Linked DNA regions of Homo sapiens: region 1 is linked to region 2. The links are contacts of gene promoters, found by promoter capture Hi-C in blood cells and fetal thymus (Javierre and others, 2016). All regions are on one chromosome and are shown on one strand. Each heading gives the region's core, a stretch centred on a gene start or on the middle of the fragment in contact. The rest is flanking DNA. Distances are from core to core; before and after follow the strand shown.

Evidence for each region. The method cuts DNA at HindIII sites, captures the fragments that hold promoters and counts their contacts. A CHiCAGO score of 5 or more calls a contact.
Region 1: a contact is called between a fragment that was not itself captured here and the fragment with the promoter of OR6K2 in region 2, in 1 of 17 cell types (erythroblasts). The highest score is 5.0, in erythroblasts.

Annotation. Positions count from the first base shown.
Region 1 is chr1:158,829,793-158,833,939 of GRCh38, reverse strand. It overlaps MNDA (myeloid cell nuclear differentiation antigen), which reads right to left and starts at 2,589. Exons shown (of 7, transcript NM_002432.3): 1 at 2,383-2,589. It also overlaps a transcript of OR6N1 not described here. The HindIII fragment of the contact is 873 bases long and covers 1,594-2,466 here.
Region 2 is chr1:158,698,283-158,702,387 of GRCh38, reverse strand. OR6K2 (olfactory receptor family 6 subfamily K member 2) reads left to right here and starts at 1,736. Exons shown (of 1, transcript NM_001005279.3): 1 at 1,736-2,710. The coding sequence starts at 1,736. The coding sequence ends at 2,710. The HindIII fragment of the contact is 9,102 bases long and covers 1-3,505 here.

The DNA.
Region 1 (4,147 bases), core at 781-3,280, 130 kb before region 2:
CTATGAAAAAAATATGATTCTTACTCTTAAAATTAAAAATAACATTACCATATGATTCAGTAATTTCACTTCTAGATATATTCCCAAAATAAGTGAAAGTGTGATCTCAAATAAATGCATGTACATATATGTTCATTGCAGCATTAATCACAACAGAAAAATGTGAAAGTATTACAAGTGTCCTTCAATGGATGAATGAATAAAAAGAAATATGGTTTCTTACGTATTTTATGGTAAATACATGAAATGGAATATTATTCTACCCTAGGAAGAAAGAATATTCTGACACATGATACAATACAACATGAATGAACTTTGAGAACATGAAATGAAAAAAGCCAGTCACAAAAAGCACACGCTTACTGTATGATTAAACATATATGAAGAGTTAGAGTTTTTAAATTTATGGGGAAAGAAGGTAGAATGATGTTTGCCAAGCTCTGGAGGAAAGGGGAATGGTGAAATTGTTGGTTAACGGTTAGAGTTTTAGTTTTGCAAGATGCAAAGGCGTTCTGGAGGTTGGTTGCACAACAATATGAATGTATTTAATACTACTGAACTGTACACTTGAAGCTGATTAAGATGACACATTTTATGTTACATGTTTCTTAACACAATTAAAAGAAAACAATTATTATATTCAAAGCTTTCAGAAGCTTGGCAGTGAAAATATCCATACCCACAGCTCTTTGTGAAGAACTACTCATTATGAAAAGAAATAAATCTAAGAAATGTTGGAGGCCAAAAGGGAAGAAAGATCAAGCAAATACTTTAATTAGTGTTTTTACTATCTTAAAAATAAGTAAAGCCAGAGTCAAATAAAAGAAAACAGGAACTATATGAACATACTCTTAACAGGTGAAGTTGTATGTTTGGGGGACCAGAAGATGTGAGAGTTTGCTAAGGGGCTTGTCTTTAAGGAGAATATAGATTTTTTAAAAATAAGAAACTTGACAAGAAAGGAGAAGAAGAAAGCACAGAATAAGTGCTATAAATTGAAACAAAGTAAGATGGCAAAACCAAGTTAAAATATATACCTTTATAGAATTTGCATATCTGGACTAAACTCATCAACTAGGAGGAAAAATTTTCAATTTGGATTAAAAATAAATCCAGTCATATGTTGTTGACAAAGTACAAATAAAGCATAAGTTCACTTAAGTTTGAGAAAGAGCTGGAAAAGTTATATTCTTCAAACTCTAACTTAAAGAAAGACTTTTTAGGAAAAATAGTGTAGCTTAAAATAGGCTTAAGTCAATAAGTATCAGTACATAGTTTCACTACATAATGGTAAAGTATGCAACTTGGAAAAAGATATAATAATTTAAATTATATTATAAATATAATCTGTTATTACTTTATAAAGTAGCATATAGAAGTTTTTTCTTCTCTCTAAACACACACATAACATATATACTTAGATATACATATTCTATGTAAAAATATATGGTAGAAATCAAAAGAACTACAATGAGAAATTAACAAAATCACTATTAGAGTTGGAGATTTCACCACATCTCTCAGTTACTGAAAGAACAAGGTAAAAAATAGCTTAGATTTAGATTTAGATTTTTCAAACATAATTAACAAGCTTACTTAAGAAACTTTATCTTACTTAAATAGAATTTGGAATCCAACGTTTATAAACTCTTCTCAAGTACTCATGGAGTAATTAGAAAACATTCATATGTACAAAGCCATAAAAAAGTCAAAATGTATCCCAAAGTAGGAAATATATAATTGATTCTCCCTGTCTTTTCATTATACCTTGCCACAAAAAATGTTATCTATGACTGAGTAAAGCATAGACCATTTGAAAAAGAGAATTATTTCTTCTTACACTTGTTGTAAAATGAAGCATAAAATGAAACTGATTCATGAAAATGTAAAGATTATTTTTGAGTAAATGCTTGTAAAATTGAGAAATTAATGTGTGCACATGTCTATGCTTTTTAAAATAGAGATAAAATCATATAATAGAGATTTATATCCTGGTTTATTTTTTACTAAATATTACTTCATAATAATTTTCTTATCTGACTGTCTTGTCTTTTAACTTAGGCCCAAACCCAGTCACCAAGTCATCCTCCAGCCAAGAAAACCAAGTATCTCCTCTAAATATCAATTTATGCCAAAAGACACCCAAGAATTAATTTTTAAAACCTGCTGTAGACAAAATACATTTTTTTGGTTCATACCCCAATTGTGGTAGAATAAAAGATATCCATTTGCTACCTAGACAGTTAAAGCATTCAGTTCTCAGTTTTCTGAATATGATTGATAACAACACTTCTGGTCTCAGGCAATTATTCTCTACTGAGATGGTGTGGTTACCAACTAGATACCTAGATCTTTCTCTAAAGAACTTCCCAGAAATCTCACCTTAATGGATGCTTCTTCCACAATAGTCTTCAGAAATCCTGGAGTCACTGTCTTGTTTAGGACAGAATCACTGTCCGTAAAGCTTTGGAGAGATTAAACTGCAGACTATTTTAATCTTGTAAAGGGCTGAGAAATGAAAGCTAACAAGGAAAAATGGCACTTGTTAGAGCCACTCTCAATCTTGATTGTAGATGGCCTTCTTACACTGTCCTAATTCCTAACTAGAAAGAAGTTATGTAATCATGAAACAATTTTGAAGCCACGCCTATCAGCCTTTGTAGCTTTCTATTTCAGATGTCAGAGAAAGTGGTCAGTTCCTCTTTGTAGTAAGTAATCTCAGTCACAAGGAGAAATGACAGTAAATGGTGCCTCTTCTTCGCTTTTTTGACTTACAAATACTTGCTGAAAGGAGTTTCAAACTCAGAACTTTCTTATAAAGCTAACTTACATATAGGTCATTAGAAACCGGTAGCCGCTTGAATAAGGATCTTAATATAAATTGGGAAAGGCAAAACACCAAAGTTTCTCCCTCCTTTCCTGTTCACAGAGTGGCAGGAGCAGGAGATCTTGGTAGAGATGTCTATTGCTACCAGAACTTGACTTCATCTCTTGGATAGGGGTGGGTCTACTGTGAAATTGTTTTTGTTTAAATAGTACCTACATATTCACCCAGTTATTAATAACTGATACACCTGGAGCTTGACAGAGGCAGAAAGTCATTATGAATATGTAAATCCTTATTCAAATAATTTGAAAGAGTTTCATACTAGTTGCTCTCTTGAGTATAATAACTGAGCTGCCTTACCTTGATTATTAAATTCATGATTACTCATGCTTTTTGCATTATTTATGGATAGTTGGTTCATATCATGACTGAAACCTTGAACATTCTGGAACAGCACTGAAACTCTGGAATGATAGGGGGCCTGATAAACCCTTTGTACTGCAATTTTTTTTTCCTGTGAAGAACAGTGGGTGCACTACAAAGTATCATAACTCTGAATTGTCAAATGAATGGTATCAGTTAGCAGACAGTGCTGTGGTTACCAACTAGCTGATCTGTAAGCAAAATGTGGTCATGACTGGAAAAGGATCCCAAAACAGCTAATAGGGGAAAATGATCCAAGGCCATCTACAGAGAAGAATAAAGCTGATTGTCTTAATCCAAACCAGCAGCATAGAGAGAGTTAAAGTTTGGATTTGGAAACTGTCTAAACCCCACTAAAGCAGGGTAAATCAGAAAAAACCAAGAGGATCTAGAATGACAGCCACTAACACATGTGGGTGTTCATTGTTTCAGTTTCTCTCTTATGCTGATGCTTCGAGCAGGTCTTAAGGTAAAGGGTAAAGAGGAACACAAGGAAACCTTATCAGGTGCCCCACTTCAGTGTTTGGGAACCAAAAGAGCTCACGACAGGAGTTACCATGTTTCAGGACAGCTTTCTGCCCTGATATGGTTTGGCTCTGTGTTCCCACCCAAATCCCATCTTGTAGCTCCCATAATTCCCACGTGTTGTGGAAGGGACCTGGTGGAAGATGAATGAATTATGGGGGCAGATCTTTCCCATGCTGTTCTCATGATAGTAAATGGGTCTCATGAGATCTGATCGTTTTAAAATAGTTTTTAAAAAATGGGAGTTGCCCTGAGCAAGCTCTCTCTTTGCCTGCTGCCATCTACGTAAGATGTGACTTGCTCCTCCTTGCCTTCCACCATGATTGTGAGGCTTCCCCAGCCATGTGGAACATTAAGTCCAATAAGATTCTT
Region 2 (4,105 bases), core at 487-2,986:
AGCAGGAGAATGGCGTGAACCTGGGAGGCGGAGCTTGCAGTGAGCCGAGATCGCGCCACTGCACTCCAGCCTGAGTGATGAGTGGGACTCCGACTCAAAAAAAAAAAAAAAAAAAAAAAAAAAAGGAAAATGTGGAGGTCGTGAGAGATATCAAAAACAAGGAATTCTGGAGTCATAATAACCACCGAGAATAGAAGGCCAATACGAGCTGATAAATAATCTTGAATAAATAAGATCTTGAAACAATAGATTCTTCTGTGTGAAAGGAAATATAGAGAAAAGAGAAAATGATCACAGAATTTGCGGTTATGTTTACACTTGGGATATAAAAAATTGAATAATCAGTGAGGAAAACCAGGATAGTGTGGTGTCAAATAGGCAAAAAAAGGAATTTCAAACATTGGGCAATTGACCTTTGGAAGTTAGTGGCAATGAAGACAGAGGGAGGCCATTAAATTTCAATGAGAAAGTCGCTAGTATACCTTAAGAAAAGAGATATGGGAAGTTGAGGGTGGATACATTATTCAGAGATTCAAAGAAGAATGAATAGAATAAATACCTTTTACACATTGGAAAAATAATGCAGTTGTTACAAAGGAGGGAAATAACCTGAATAGAAACAGTATTTTCTCCCAAGATAAGAAGAAATGTGCATGTTTGATTGCAGAAGAGACAAATAAAGTAAAACAAAACATTCTGAAAAGAGAATAAATTAATAGGACAATTTCCTATAATGTGTGTAGTTTAAATTGTATTCTACAGGGCACTGCAGCTCTGCCCTTCCTTCTAACTACCACCATTCAATTGTACCAGAGCAAGTGTACAACTATATTAAGCATTTATTTATTAATATAGTTAGTTTTCATAAGTTACTACATTTGACCAAAGGCTTCTGGTACAAAACCCCTTTAAGATCTCCTTACCAAGAAGACGTAGAAGAGAAGGAAAGGAAGGAGATAGAATAGACTATCTTATAAAACAAGGTAAAATAACTTATGATTATTTATATGGCTTTTCTTCTCCAAATATTCTCTGAATTATGGTTAAGAATATACATATGAAGAGAGGAAGAGTTATTAGAGAAAGAGGGTTGAAAGAATTCACCAGTAATGGTTTTGTCTTTATTATAAAAATATGCCAATCAAATCATATGCCAAGAATCCAATAAACTGGGAGCTTGAAGAAAAAATATATGGAACAATGTGGGGAGATTATTAGGGAATCAATAAGATTTAAATATCGAAAAGAACGTCCTCTTAATTATTGATTATTCCTTCAATGCTCTGTCTAATTCTATATTCGCCTAAACAAAGTTGTTTTAAAATATAGTCCCCTGACCAGCAGGACCACCATTGCCTGAAAATTTGTTAGAAATGAAAATTCTTGGGTCCTACCTCAGAACTACAGATTAGGACCGAACTCTCAGTATGAGGACCAGCAATATGAGTTTTAACAAGCCCTCCAGGTGATTCTGATGCATGTTAATATATCTGAGAATCTCACATCCAAAATATTGACTGTGCTTTCTGACTGGATTTTTTCCACACTACAACTTAAGTCGTAAGCAACTATAGAATATGGACCATGTCCTTCTTCCTTGTCTTCCTCTCTATCCCCATTACAGGGCTCTATTCAGACGCTGGCTTCTTGTAAGTGTATTCCTTTATCCAATAGTAGATGCCTCCTAGAAGGCTTGAGTGCACTGGAAATTGAAACTCTCACTTTCAACTTGGAGATGGAGAGCCCCAATCGAACCACCATTCAGGAGTTTATCTTCTCCGCTTTCCCTTATTCCTGGGTTAAGTCTGTTGTCTGCTTTGTTCCACTGCTCTTCATCTATGCTTTCATTGTTGTTGGAAACCTGGTCATCATCACAGTGGTCCAGTTGAATACTCACCTCCACACTCCCATGTATACTTTTATCAGTGCTCTTTCTTTCCTGGAGATTTGGTATACCACAGCCACAATCCCAAAGATGCTGTCTAGCCTGCTTAGTGAGAGGAGCATTTCCTTCAATGGTTGTCTCCTGCAGATGTATTTCTTCCATTCCACCGGCATCTGTGAGGTGTGTCTCTTGACAGTTATGGCCTTTGACCACTACCTGGCCATATGCAGCCCTCTTCATTATCCCTCTATCATGACCCCCAAGCTATGTACCCAACTGACTTTAAGTTGCTGTGTTTGTGGCTTTATCACACCCCTTCCTGAGATTGCCTGGATCTCTACACTGCCATTTTGTGGTTCGAATCACCTTGAACATATCTTCTGTGACTTCCTCCCAGTGCTGCGTCTGGCCTGCACAGACACACGAGCCATCGTCATGATTCAGGTAGTGGATGTCATTCATGCAGTGGAGATTATTACAGCTGTGATGCTCATCTTCATGTCCTACGATGGTATTGTGGCTGTAATTCTACGTATTCATTCAGCTGGAGGCCGCCGCACAGCATTTTCCACGTGTGTCTCTCACTTCATTGTCTTTTCGCTCTTCTTTGGCAGTGTGACTCTCATGTACCTACGCTTCTCTGCCACCTACTCTTTGTTCTGGGATATAGCCATTGCTCTGGCCTTTGCAGTTTTGTCTCCCTTCTTCAACCCCATTATCTATAGCCTGAGGAATAAAGAAATAAAAGAAGCTATAAAAAAGCACATAGGTCAAGCTAAGATATTTTTTTCCGTAAGACCAGGGACCTCAAGTAAGATATTTTAGTTGAGATTCTGTATAGTTGCTGGTTCCTCTTCACCTTCAGCTCTCAGCAATCTGTCTTTTCCTATCAACCTTCTATTCAAACTGGTCTCCCAAAGCTCACCAAACCAAACCAAACCAAACCAAACAAAAGGAAACAAATTCAGCAATAGCTAACGTCAATAACTTCTATTTAATCATTACTCAATTAGACATATTTTTCAATCTGACTTTATTAATTACAGTTTCTGCCACTCAAGTTATTCAAAGTAAATTCATTTTGTTGAAATGTTCTGCATAAACATTTACTTTAATTTTAAAGCAATTAAAATATTTGTCTGTAAGACCTGGTAATTTAAAAAGTATCCTTCATAAGACTAAGTTTTATCCATGGTGCCTCTAGCTTCTATAGTTGAAGAATGACTCAAATTTTTAAATTGAGTATCCAAGTATTGATCAATAAGCAATTTAATTGTTACTCATTAAATAATCAGTTTTTTCATGATACATAAAAAACCTAGATGTTGCATTCACTGTGATCAAATGCATTGTACATATTAAGTAATAAACATAAAAATGATCTGTTGAATGAATAAACCAACATACCGCCATGCTGCATTCTGATTGTTTTAGACAATCGACCAATTGTGTTAGGCAACAACTCTTTCAAGCTCTCTTCTTTGGCTTTTAGGATTCCAAACTCTTTTTTATCCTACCTCATTGACGCTTCTTTCTCTTGCTGAGTCTTCATGTCATACATGCTTTATAAAAAGCGATTTTTCTCCAGGGCTCATGATTCAGCTGGGATAGGATAAAGCTTATTACTGTGCAAATGTTAATAAATTTTTACCCTTCTCTAGCCTGCCAACACAAATCCTATAGCTGTCAGTGTGATTTCCCCACTTTTGTGCCACAATCCTTTCATTACTTTTACTCCTAAATCTTATGATATTTTAAAATAAAATGGAAAGACAAGTTAAGGAGAGATCTTATAAAAAGGGTTAATGCTATCAAATAAAAGTCTGGGATACAGAAGAGAAGAAAAATCAGAGAAAACCTGTTGATTGTGGGTGCAGGGGGTCTGGGTAAGAGAAAGGCTTTAAGGGATACTTGGTTGAAGAACAAGAGGACAGAGGGAAAAAGAAATGCAAGAAGTATCACTGAGTTTAAGTCATGTATTTTTAATATTCTTCAAGTGACACGAAAAATGTCATTATTTTTCCAATTTATTGACTAATTGATGCTGTTGTAAGTGCAATATTTTTACAGAGCTGATCTACATAAAGCTCCATTATGTGAAAGGGTCACACCATTTTTTCTCTGTCCTCTCTACTTTTAAATTTTTCAATACATAATCATTTCCTAAATATTATCAATATCCCTAAAAAATAATATAGCTAACACTACCTGTCTTACATC